2 separate regions of the Homo sapiens genome follow, and region 2 is linked to region 1. The links are contacts of gene promoters, found by promoter capture Hi-C in human tissues and cell types (Jung and others, 2019). All regions are on one chromosome and are shown on one strand. Each heading gives the region's core, a stretch centred on a gene start or on the middle of the fragment in contact. The rest is flanking DNA. Distances are from core to core; before and after follow the strand shown.

Region 1 (5,182 bases), core at 465-2,964:
AGTGCTGGGATTACAGGCGTGAGCCACCATGCCCGACCTCTTTTTTTTTTTTTTTTAAAGACAGAGTCTCCCTGTTACCCAGGCTGGAGTGCAGTGGCATGATATCAGCTCACTGCAACCTTCACCTCCCAGGTTCAAGCGATTCTCTTGCCTCAGCTTCCTGAGTGGCTGGGATTACAGGCGTGCGCCAACACGCCCAGCTAATTTTTGTATTTTTAGTAGAGATGGGGTTTCACCATGTTGGCCAGGCTGGTCTTGAACTCCTGACCTCAGGTGATCCACCCGCCTCAGCCTCCCAAAGTGCTGGGATTACAGGTGTGAGCCACCACGCCCGGCCTCACTATAAATCTTTAACCCAGAACCAAATGGGGGTCTCAACAAAGGAAGAAATTTTCTATGAAGCAAGAAAGGATGTCATGCTTTTCTCCCGGAAAAACACACCTCAATCCATTTCCCAAATGCGCTCTCCAAACCACGTTTGCCCACCCTCAACACACGGCCCTCCTAAGACAGCACTGGAAACCGAATGCGGGTCAGAGTCGGCTAAAAACGACTTTCTCACTATTTCCTGCGCTGAATCGGGTGGCCAGGGCCCCCTCACTGTGACCTTGGAACCTCGACTTCCCACAGGGCTGTTTCCTCGCCTGTAAAGGAGGAGGGGCGTTCAGAGACCACCTCATTCTGGGTGCTGAATCCAGGCAGAATCAGAGGGAGATTCCGCCTTCCCTTCCACGCAGGGCCCCTCGAGGGAGCCTGCGAGGTCTTAAGAGTCTGGGAGAACACCCGGGGGCAGGTGCACGCCCTAGGCAAGACGCCAGGGCTAAATCCCGTGAAGAACGGTAATCCCTTCCCGATCCGGAGGGCTGACCCACTCAGAGCCTCCATGTGCTCTTGGAGGACAAAAGCCCCTTTTCCAGAAGGGAGCGCCAAGATGATCGCTCCAGGCCGCACGGGCCCTTGCGGGGGCCCCAGAGAGTCTCAGGGGAGGGTCTCTGACCCTAACACTCGCAGGCAGGGTGGACCCGTCTCCAGATTCCACGCCCAGGCCGCTTTCCCCAGGTCCTGCGGAGTCCAGCCCCAGCAGGACGGGTTGGGCAGGCACCAACCAGCCCCTGACCCCTGGCTCCAGGCCAAAGGGGACGCTCACCCAGGCTTTGGGTCTCCCTTCTCCTGGCCGATGGGACCGGCGGGCGGGCCACCTCCAACCGCCTTCGCAGACGCCCTCACCCAGGAAGCAGGTCACCCCCAACCCCAGGTGACCGAAAAGCAAGACGCCCACCTCCCCTGACCAAGACCGGCCTGGCCAGGACCCCCTGGCTCCCGCCTCCAAGCAGGGAGCTTCACGCCCACACACAGAGGCCGGGCTCGAGGCCGGAGCGCCCGGGGGAGCCCGGCAGGCCGCGCCGGGAGGAACCTCTAGTCCCCCCTCAAACCCTGGGACTTCACCCCCAAGCTCCATGCTGGCGCGGGAAGCCCCCGGGGCCGGCCTTTCGCACCCCAGGCCGCCCCGCGCCGAGGCCCCAGGCTCCCGTCGGCTTCGGGTCGGCACCGCGGCCTCCATTCCCGGCCCCTGCAGGACCGCACCCCCGCCCCCTACCCGCTCCTCACCAGCCCCGGAGGCTCCGTGGGTGCCCAGCAGCGCGAATCCCAGCAGCACGAACAGCGCAGCCGCCATGATTCCTATTCCTCGCCGGTCCTACAACCTCCAACCGCTGCCGCCGCCGCCCGCGGCCGCTATAAAAAGCGGCGGAGGCGCGGACCGGGCGCGCGCACGCACGGCGTCATCTCGGGGGCGGGGCGAGCGCCGGGGACGCCGGTCGCCCCGCCTGCGCACGCGCGCACACGCTCGCATGTACGCGCCGGCTCCGGCAGGCTCACGCTACGGAATCCGGGCGGCGGCGCACGTGACCCGGCGTTGCTAGGAAACGGGAGTGGGGCCTGCGGGGACGCGGCTGGAGCCTGCGCATTTCTTCCTTCCTGCTTTCAAAGTTGCAATGAGCGCAGAGCGGTGCGCCCGAGGGGGTTGAAGCGTTGAAAGTGTGTTACCCAGATTTTATCTGAGTTAAACACGGGCCGGCCGCTGTGGCTCACGTCTGTACTCCCAGAGCCTTGGGAGGTCGAGGCGGGAAGATCGCTTGAGCCCGGGAGCTCGAGACCAGACGCGGCAACATGGCGAGACGCACATCTCTGCCTTTAAAAATGTACATATATATATATATATATGAACGTATTAATAAATTAGGTGGGAGGAAGTGACCTCCTCCGCCCAAATAAAAATACTTAAAGGGCACTTGAATCTGGATCTCAGAAAATGAATAATTTCTTAGTATAAACGTCCTGTGCACCATTTGGTTGGGACAAGTAAGTTCCTCTTCAGAAACTCAACTTCCAGGTCTAAAGTTGTCAATCAACCTTACCCCCTTCTTCTTTCCTCGCAGGTGGCGCGTTTACCCTATTTTAAAAAAGTTTTAAGTTTTAGCCAACCGGGATCAGCTTAGATTGTGGGCGTCCAACCCCAGCCAACAGGGAAAGGACAGAGGAACAGAAGCTCCCTTCCTTTGTCCCGTGTGCTCTGGAGATTGCATCCCACGCAGGCAGCCCCCTTCCGTACAAGTAAAGTGGTCTCGCTGAGAAATTTTCTAAGTGCTGGTTTCTCTTTGCGGGACCGACTCGCCGCCCCCAAATATCCCATTTGGATCCCATTCTGTTTCAGGAGAGGCTGGCGGTTACCTTTCTTGGGGAGACGCGTCCGACTGCTTCATTGTGGGGGCCTCAGGAGCGGAGGATCGGGTCCCGCCCGAGGTGACGCGTAAACCCAGACTCTCAGCAACGCGGGTAGGAAGGACCCTTGAAGTTCCGCGGCGACCACGGTGAGAAAAGTCGCTATTGGGGCGACACAGGTGGGGGCGTCTCTTGGAGGTTGAAAGTGTGTGTTGGAAGTTAAACTCGGAGTCGCAATGCAAGAGGACCGCAGACTAAGCCGAACGCGAAGGGCTAACTGGAAAGGGGCAGGAATGTGGCTACACTGGCGGGAAGAGCCCGTGGCGACGGGAGGGGGATGTGCAGAGTGGGTGGCAGGTGCCATCTCTGCAGATCAGGACCGGCGGGAAACTTGTTTACTGAGACTCAGACGGGGAGGCCCAGAGGGTGAGGAAGTCAGGTTGGCCTTGGAAGTAGGAAACGAAGAACGAGGGCGCTGAACGAGCCAAACCTTTGAAGAGGAACTTGTGAATGAATGAGACGCGCCATATCTTTTGTGTGTGTGTGTGTTGGAGTCTCGCTGTGTCACCCAGGCTGGAGTGCAGCGGCGCGATCTCGACTCTCTGCAACCTCCGCCTCCCGGGTTCAAGCGATTCTCCTGCCTCAGCCTCCTGAGTAGCTGGGATTACAGGCGCGCACCACCACGCCCGGCTAATTTTTGTATTTTTAGCAGAGACGCCCCATATCTAAAGAAGGGTGGGATCCTCTAGACCACCTTCCCCCACTCACCCCTCCGCCCCTCCCAACCCACCCCCTCCGCCCCTCCCAACCCACCCCCTCCGCCCCTCCCAACCCACCCCCTCCGCCCCTCCCAACCCACCCCCTCCGCCCCTCCCAACCCACCCCTCCGCCCCCCCCACCCACCCACCCCACCCCTCCGCCCCTCCCCAACCCGCCCCTCCGCCCCTCCCACCCACCCCTCGCCCCTCCGCCCCTCCCCCACCCGCTCCTCCGCCCCTCCATCCCTCCCCTATAGAACCACCTGGACCTTGCCACCCACATCCCCGCTGGACAGCCACTAGAACATGCCCCTTCCTCAGGAAAGCTCCAACGGGAAACAGAACAATGCCAAAGGGATATTCGAAACTTTCGGCCGGGCGCGGTGGCTCACGCCTGTAATTCCAGCACTTTGGGAGGCAGAGGCGGGTGGATCACGAGGCCAGGAGTTCAGGACTGGCAGCCTGGCCACGATGATGAAACCTCGCCTCTACTAAAAATACGAAAATTAGCCGGACGTGGTGGCGGGCGCCTGTAATTCCAGCTACTCAGCTACTCGGGAGGCTGAGGCAGGGAATGTCTTGAACCCGGGAGGTGGAGCTTGCAGTGAGCCGAGATCGCGCCACCGCACTCCAGCCTCGGCAACAAGAGCGAGACTCCGTCTCAAAAAACAAACAAACAAACAAAAACCCACAGAACTTTCCTTTTGCCTCCTGCTCAAAAAGACCTGCCTCAGCCCTTTTCCCCTTTAGGGAAGGACCACCGGGAGGAAGGGATATTGACTTCGTAAATGCCCCCTTTAACCAGTTCAGAGGTTAGAAATCTAAAAGAACTCAAACCACTGTTAGATGACCCTTTTGGATTCGCGGATCAAATTGACCAATTTCTGGGGCCACAGCTGTACGCTTGGGCTGAATTAATGTCTACCCTCAGTACTCTCGTCTCAGGAGAGAGAGAACCATGATTCACAGGCCGCTGTGTTAGTCTGGGAGCGTGAACACCCCCCGGTCAGAACGTCCTTTCAGCGGAGCGTAAATTCCTGGCCCAAGATCCTGGGTGGGATGACAATGTGACCTAAAAAACATGAGCGATCTCGGAGATGGGATAATTACAAGGATTCGGGAATCAGATCTGCAAACCCAAAATACTTCCCGAGCATTTAACGTACAACAGAGGAAACATGAAGGGCCCATGGGGTTTTTTTTGGAGACAGAGTCTCGCTCTGTCGCCCAGGCTGGAGTTCAGTGGCGCGATCTCAGCTCACTCCAACCTCCGCCTCCCGGGTTCAAGCGATTCTCCTGCCTCAGCCTCCCAAGTAGCTGGGATTACAGGCGCCCGCCACCACGCCTGGCTAATTTTTTGTATTTTAGTGGAGACAGGGTTTCACCATGTTGGCCAAGATGGTCTCGATCTCCTGACCTTGTGATCTGCCCACGTCGGCCTCCCAAAGTGCTGGGATTACAGGCGTGAGCCACCGCGCCTGGCCAGGCCCGTGGAATTCTTAAACAGACTTAATAAACAGATAAGAAAATATGCAGCTGCCGGCTCACGCCTGTAATCCCAGCACTTTGGGAGGCTGAGGTGGGCGGATCATGAGGTCAGGAGATCCAGACCATCCTGGCTAACACGGTGAAACCCCATCTCTACTAAAATACAAAAAAATTAGCCGGGCGTGGTGGGGGCGCCTGTAGTCCCAGCTACTCGG
Region 2 (5,182 bases), core at 1-2,500, 870 kb before region 1:
AGGCGGGAGGGTCGCTTGAGCCCAGGAGTTCAAGACCAACCTGGACGACACAGAGAAACGCTGTTTCCACAAATAATCAAAAATCAAGGTCGGGCGCGGTGTTCACGCCTGTAATCCCAGCACTTTGGGAGGCCGAGGCAGGTGGATCACCTGAGGTCAGGAGTTTGAGACCAGCCTGGGCAACACTGAAACTCGTCTCTACTAAAAATACAAAAATTAGCCGGACGTGGTGGGGGGGCCCTCTAATCCCAGCTACTCGAGAGGCTGAGGCAAGAGAATCGCTTGAACCCGGGAGTGGGAGGCTGCAGTGAGCTGGGACGGAGCCATTGCACTCCAGCCTGGGCGACAGGATGAGACTCCGCCTCAAAATAATCAAAAATTAAAAAATAAAAGCGCAAGCCAGATGCCCACCACCACCCTGCCTGGAAAGGACCCAGCGACCTCCACCGCCCTTAAAATCTAAGGAGTCTAACGCAGCCCCTTATTCTAAGTCACGTGGGCTACAGACAGGGGCTACACCTTCCAACTAAGCCGCGGAAAAGTGAACAACGGGGGGCAGGTTGCAAATAAGCAAAAACCTCAACGTCTCTGGACAGTTTTCTGGGCGCAAGACCACACTCAGTTCCAAACCCGCGCGGAGACCGTGCCCGCCCACCGCCGCAGAGGCGCTTGGACCCCCGCCCCGCCGCCCTCACCCGGACAAGCCCCACCGCTGGCCCAGCCCCTGCCCGCGACCCCCGCGGCCGCCCTTACTAGGACATGTCCAGCAGCTGGTCGAGGTCCACGCCGCGGTAGGTGAACTTGCGGAAGGTCCGCTTCTTCTTCTGCTCTACTTCTGCCTGTGCGGGCGCGGATCGGGCGTCAGCGGGATCCCGACACCCATCTCCCGGGGCCACCGGGCCCGAGGACACCGCGGAAGACGCGCGGCGCCGCCGGGGACAGAAGCCCGACAGGGACACACCGCTTCGACCCGTCCCCGGGGATCACTCGCGGCTCCGGGTTACGAGGACCCGGACATGAAGGCCCGGACAGGCCTTCCCAGCCCCGCGTCGTCCCGACACCCACCAAGTCCGCCCCTCGCCCCAACATCCAGCCGCCTGCAGGGTCGGGAGCAAGCCGCCGTAGCCGCGGGGACGAACTGCGGCCCCCGCGAGACGGTCAGAGGTTGGATGGAGCCGGATAGGCCCGGCAGAGACGCGCCAAATCGCAACACTCACCATCTTGCCGGATCCTCAGAAGAGATCGCTTTGGTCCGCGCCTGCGCAGTTATCGCGAGACTGCCGGCATGTCCCGCCCCCTCGGCCGTGCGCGCACACGCGCTTCCGCTTTCCCGGCGGCGAACACGCGCCCTCTGCCGTCTGGAGGGCAAAACACAGGCTGCAGGGATTAGAGCAGCCGCCGCCTGAGGTCTGCAGAGCCGCTTCCTCCACGGAGTGGGACTTTGGACAAGTCGCCGCCCCTGTCTGAGCCTCGGGTTCGTGCTCCGTCATCTACACGATGGCACCCACATCAACAAGTATTTATGGAGCGCCTACCGTTTGCTCGTAGGTGCGGTTTGGCGGTTCAGGTCCCACTGTGGGAGGAACACGAGAATTCATTACAGATACTGGAGCAGGGACAGGGCCTCGCTGAAAAGAACCATTCCGGCTTTAACAGATAAAATTTTGTATATAAAGTTAGTAAGGACAACACAGTGAGACTGCCTCTCTACAAAAAAATACAAAAATTTGTGTACACACGGACATAAAAGAATAAAAAGTACAAAAAATTCCCAGCTACTCGGGAGGCTGAGCCTTCAGCCCAGGAGGTCAAGGCTGCAGTGAGCCGTGATCGCGCCAACGGCACTCCAGCCTGGGCGACAGAGCAAGACCCTGCCTCAAAAATAAAGTTAGGAATATCACTGGGTTTGTTAAGATATGTAAATGTAATGTGAATAATGATAGCTCAAAGAGAAGGAGTAACTAGAACTATGTAGGAGTGACTTTTTTTTTTTTTTGAGACAGAGTTTCACTCTTGTTGCCCTGGCTGGAGTGCAGTGGTGTGATCTCGGCTCACTGCAACCTCTGCCTCCTGGGTTCAAGCGATTCTCCTGCCTCAGCCTCCCAAGTAGCTGGGATTACAGGCACCTGTTACCGTGCCCGGCTAATTTTGTATTTTTAGTAAAGACACGGTTTCTCCATGTTGGCCAGGCCATGTTGGTCTCGAACTCCTGACCTCAGGTGATCCACCCGCTTTGGCCTCCCAAAGTGCTGGGATTACAGGCGTGAGCCACCGCGCCTGGCCTAGGAGTGATGTTTCTGTATCTTACTGGAATTAAGTATAAAGTTGAAGGTGACTATTAACTATGGATGTGGCACCTGGCTGGGCGTGGTGGCTTATGCTTGTAATTCCAGCACTTTGGGAGGCCGAGGCGGGCGGATCACCTGAGGTCAAGAGTTCAAGACCAAGCTGACCAACCCTAACTCTACTAAAAATACAAAAAATTAGCCAGGCGTGGTGGTGGGTGCCTGTAATCCCAGCTCCTTGGGAGGCTGAGGCAGGAGAACCGCTTGAACCCGGGAGGCGGAGGTTGCAGTGAGCTGAGATCGCACCACTGCACTCCAGCCTGGGCGACAGAGACTCCTTCTCAAAAAAAAAAAAAAAAAAAAAAAAGAAAAAGAAAAAAAAAAAGCACAAAACCTCTGGGAACCCGAGCTTAGCTGTGGCACTGTCCAGGGAGCTGAGCTCTCCCCAGCCGTCCCCACAGTCCCAAGGGAAGCCAATTACACTGTACTCAGGGAGGGCTGAGTCTCCGTCCCGAGGAGCACAGGACCTATGTGTCGGGCCCGTCCATGTTACCCATTTTCCTGCAGCAGAGTGTCCTGGCTGGAAAGCTGATTTTGTGAGTGCTGCTCTTTGGCTGGGGGAGCTAATGTAACGGGAGGGGCTGACACTCAACACCATGATGACCTGTGGTGTGGATAGACAGCCGCCCCCGCCTGGCCCTCCTGGGAGCTGGGGCAGCAGCTCCTGAGGACATGGGAGAAGGCTCTGACGGCAGGGAATGGAGCTGGCTTCCTGGGCTGAGGCGTTGAGGGGTACTGTCTCAGTGAGGAAACTGCACTGCACAGGGATGTTGGGGGTACCCCTTCTCTTGGTTCTCTCCAAACTAAGTCAAACCTTCCCTGTCCCCAAAATATGAACTGGGGCGGGGGGGGGTGGTTCTGGCTGTCGCCTGAACAGTCTCACGCCTGGCACGCTGTAGGCTTCCAGTTTGGGACTTCATGGTCCTTTTTTTTTCTTGTTTTGTTTTTTGAGACGGAGTTTCGCTCTTGTTGCCCAGGCTGGAGTGCAATGGCGCAATCTCGGCTCACTGCAAGCTCCGCCTCCCAGGTTCAAGCGATTCTTCTGCCTCAGCCTCCCAAGTAGCTGGGATTACAGGCATGCACCACCACACCCGGTTAATTTTTGTATTTTTAGTAGAGACGGGGTTTCTCCATGTTGGTCAGGCTGGTCTCGAACTCCCGACCTCAGGTGATCCGCCCGCCTCGGCCTCCCAAAGTGCTGGGATTACAGTCGTGAGCCACCGCGCCCGGCCCTTTTTAAGTCTCGCCTTCCCTGCCACAGTGACAGAGTATCCCTTTCCAAAGATGCCCCTGTCCTAATCCCCAGAACCTGGGGATATGTCACCTTCCATGGCAAAAGATATGATTAAAGGTCTTGAGATGGGAAAAGCCTGGAGCCCACATTCCCCGAGAAAACTGGTGGTGGCCACATCCTCAAAGTCACAGCATCCCAAGACCCACTGAGGGATGGGCCCAGCTCGCCACTCAGCCTCTGCCCTGAAGCCCTCGGGGTTGCTGAGACCACCAAGAGCCAAGGGGAGGGCGAGGGCGCCTCCGTCGCGTTTCAGACCTTTCCTAGGCACTGGAAGGGTAGGCACAGGCCAAGACCAAGGAGGGAAAAAACGGACACAAAGTGGTTTCTAATCCAAACGCACTTCTCTTTATTCAAACCAGGGTCAAACTGGTCAATGGGAAACGCCCTGAAGCCACGTGCCTGGGGAGAAAGGCTTCCTACTCGGTTCGGTTCAGCGCTGCGTGGGATCCACGCGGCTGGCTGTGCGCAACCCCCACAGTTCACCTCAGACACTACCAAGCAGGTCAGTCGACAAAAGCAAGGAATTAAACAAAAAACAGAAATACACTCAGTAGATTTCTTCTAGAAGCTCCCAGAGTTTCTGGACCACCAAGTCCCAACCCCCAAAGCCAGGAGCGAGGGGACTAACAGCGCACCCCCTCCACCAGTGCCGACGGAAACCCCGTTTTAAATTAAAAAATAAGCCAGTATACATCGTAGAAAATTTCTCTTAAAAATCTCACAATTTGTAAATGTATATTTTTTCTTTAACATAAAAGTTTACAATATACCGTAAAACAAAAGGCTCAGGAAAATAATTTCCAAAAAAAAGGAAGAAAAAGAAACCTGAAGTTTTGAATTAAAGCTGAAGACATTTTTTTTAAACCCTGTTGTTGAACCAGTGACTTTTTTTTATTGTGCTGATGGGTTAGAGAAAGAAATATTTAAAAACCTCAGTCCAGACGACACCCACAGCCGCTCCAAAAGCCTCGCGCCCTCCCCCCGCCCCCCCCCCCAAGGTTGAGTCGCCACTTTGCCGCCAAGTTTGTGATTGTCACGAGTTCACAAGTTTGGAATCCTGGGTCTGGGCCGTGCAGACGTCGCGGCGCCGCGGGCTAGCGTCGGTAGGGGTGGAACCCTTGCACGTTGTGGTTCTGCCCTCGTCCAAAGCCGCTGCCGCCGGCGGGGGGGCCCCCCGACCCTGGCACGGAGGGACCCCCGTAGGAAGGAGGCTGCTGGCTGGGGTCTGAGAAGCCCTGTCCGAAGCCACTCAAGTCCTGCCCGTAACCTGCTGGGGGAGAAAGTCCTGTGAGCTCGGGGCGGTCCCTGGGCGGTTGGCACTGCCGTCGAGCGAGGCCACCTGGACACAGCTCCGCCGAGCCTGCCTTGAGTCCACGGGTCCCACGGGGTGCGGGTGGGGCCCTTCTGAGGCCAGCACCTGGGCCGGGGAGAGGACCCCGGGCATGTTCTCTCCCTCAAAAACATGTGAGCAGGGGCACACACAGAGAAAAGCGGCTTCCAGAGCCCTCCATGGCCCACGTAACCTCACCGCTTCCCTGTTCAA

What was found. Contacts are between HindIII fragments. The study calls those that stand out against the background at their distance.
Region 2: a contact is called between the fragment with the promoter of RPS15 here and the fragment with the promoter of BSG in region 1, in 2 of the 25 tissues and cell types used here (dorsolateral prefrontal cortex and lymphoblastoid cells).

What each region holds. Positions count from the first base shown.
Region 1 is chr19:569,128-574,309 of GRCh38, reverse strand. BSG (basigin (Ok blood group)) reads right to left here and starts at 1,714. Exons shown (of 9, transcript NM_001728.4): 1 at 1,609-1,714. The coding sequence starts at 1,675. It overlaps BSG-AS1 (BSG antisense RNA 1), which reads left to right and starts at 2,062. Exons shown (of 3, transcript NR_184018.1): 1 at 2,062-2,201; 2 at 2,714-2,870. RefSeq lists silencers at 1,374-1,553, 1,724-1,943 and enhancers at 2,764-2,813, 2,894-3,466. The HindIII fragment of the contact is 13,063 bases long and covers 1-5,182 here.
Region 2 is chr19:1,434,464-1,439,645 of GRCh38, reverse strand. RPS15 (ribosomal protein S15) reads right to left here and starts at 1,250. Exons shown (of 4, transcript NM_001018.5): 1 at 1,218-1,250; 2 at 754-839. The coding sequence starts at 1,220. DAZAP1 (DAZ associated protein 1) reads right to left here. Exons shown (of 12, transcript NM_018959.4): 12 at 3,962-4,909. The coding sequence ends at 4,734. RefSeq lists enhancers at 1,007-1,226, 635-1,505, 4,882-5,182. The HindIII fragment of the contact is 20,902 bases long and covers 1-5,182 here.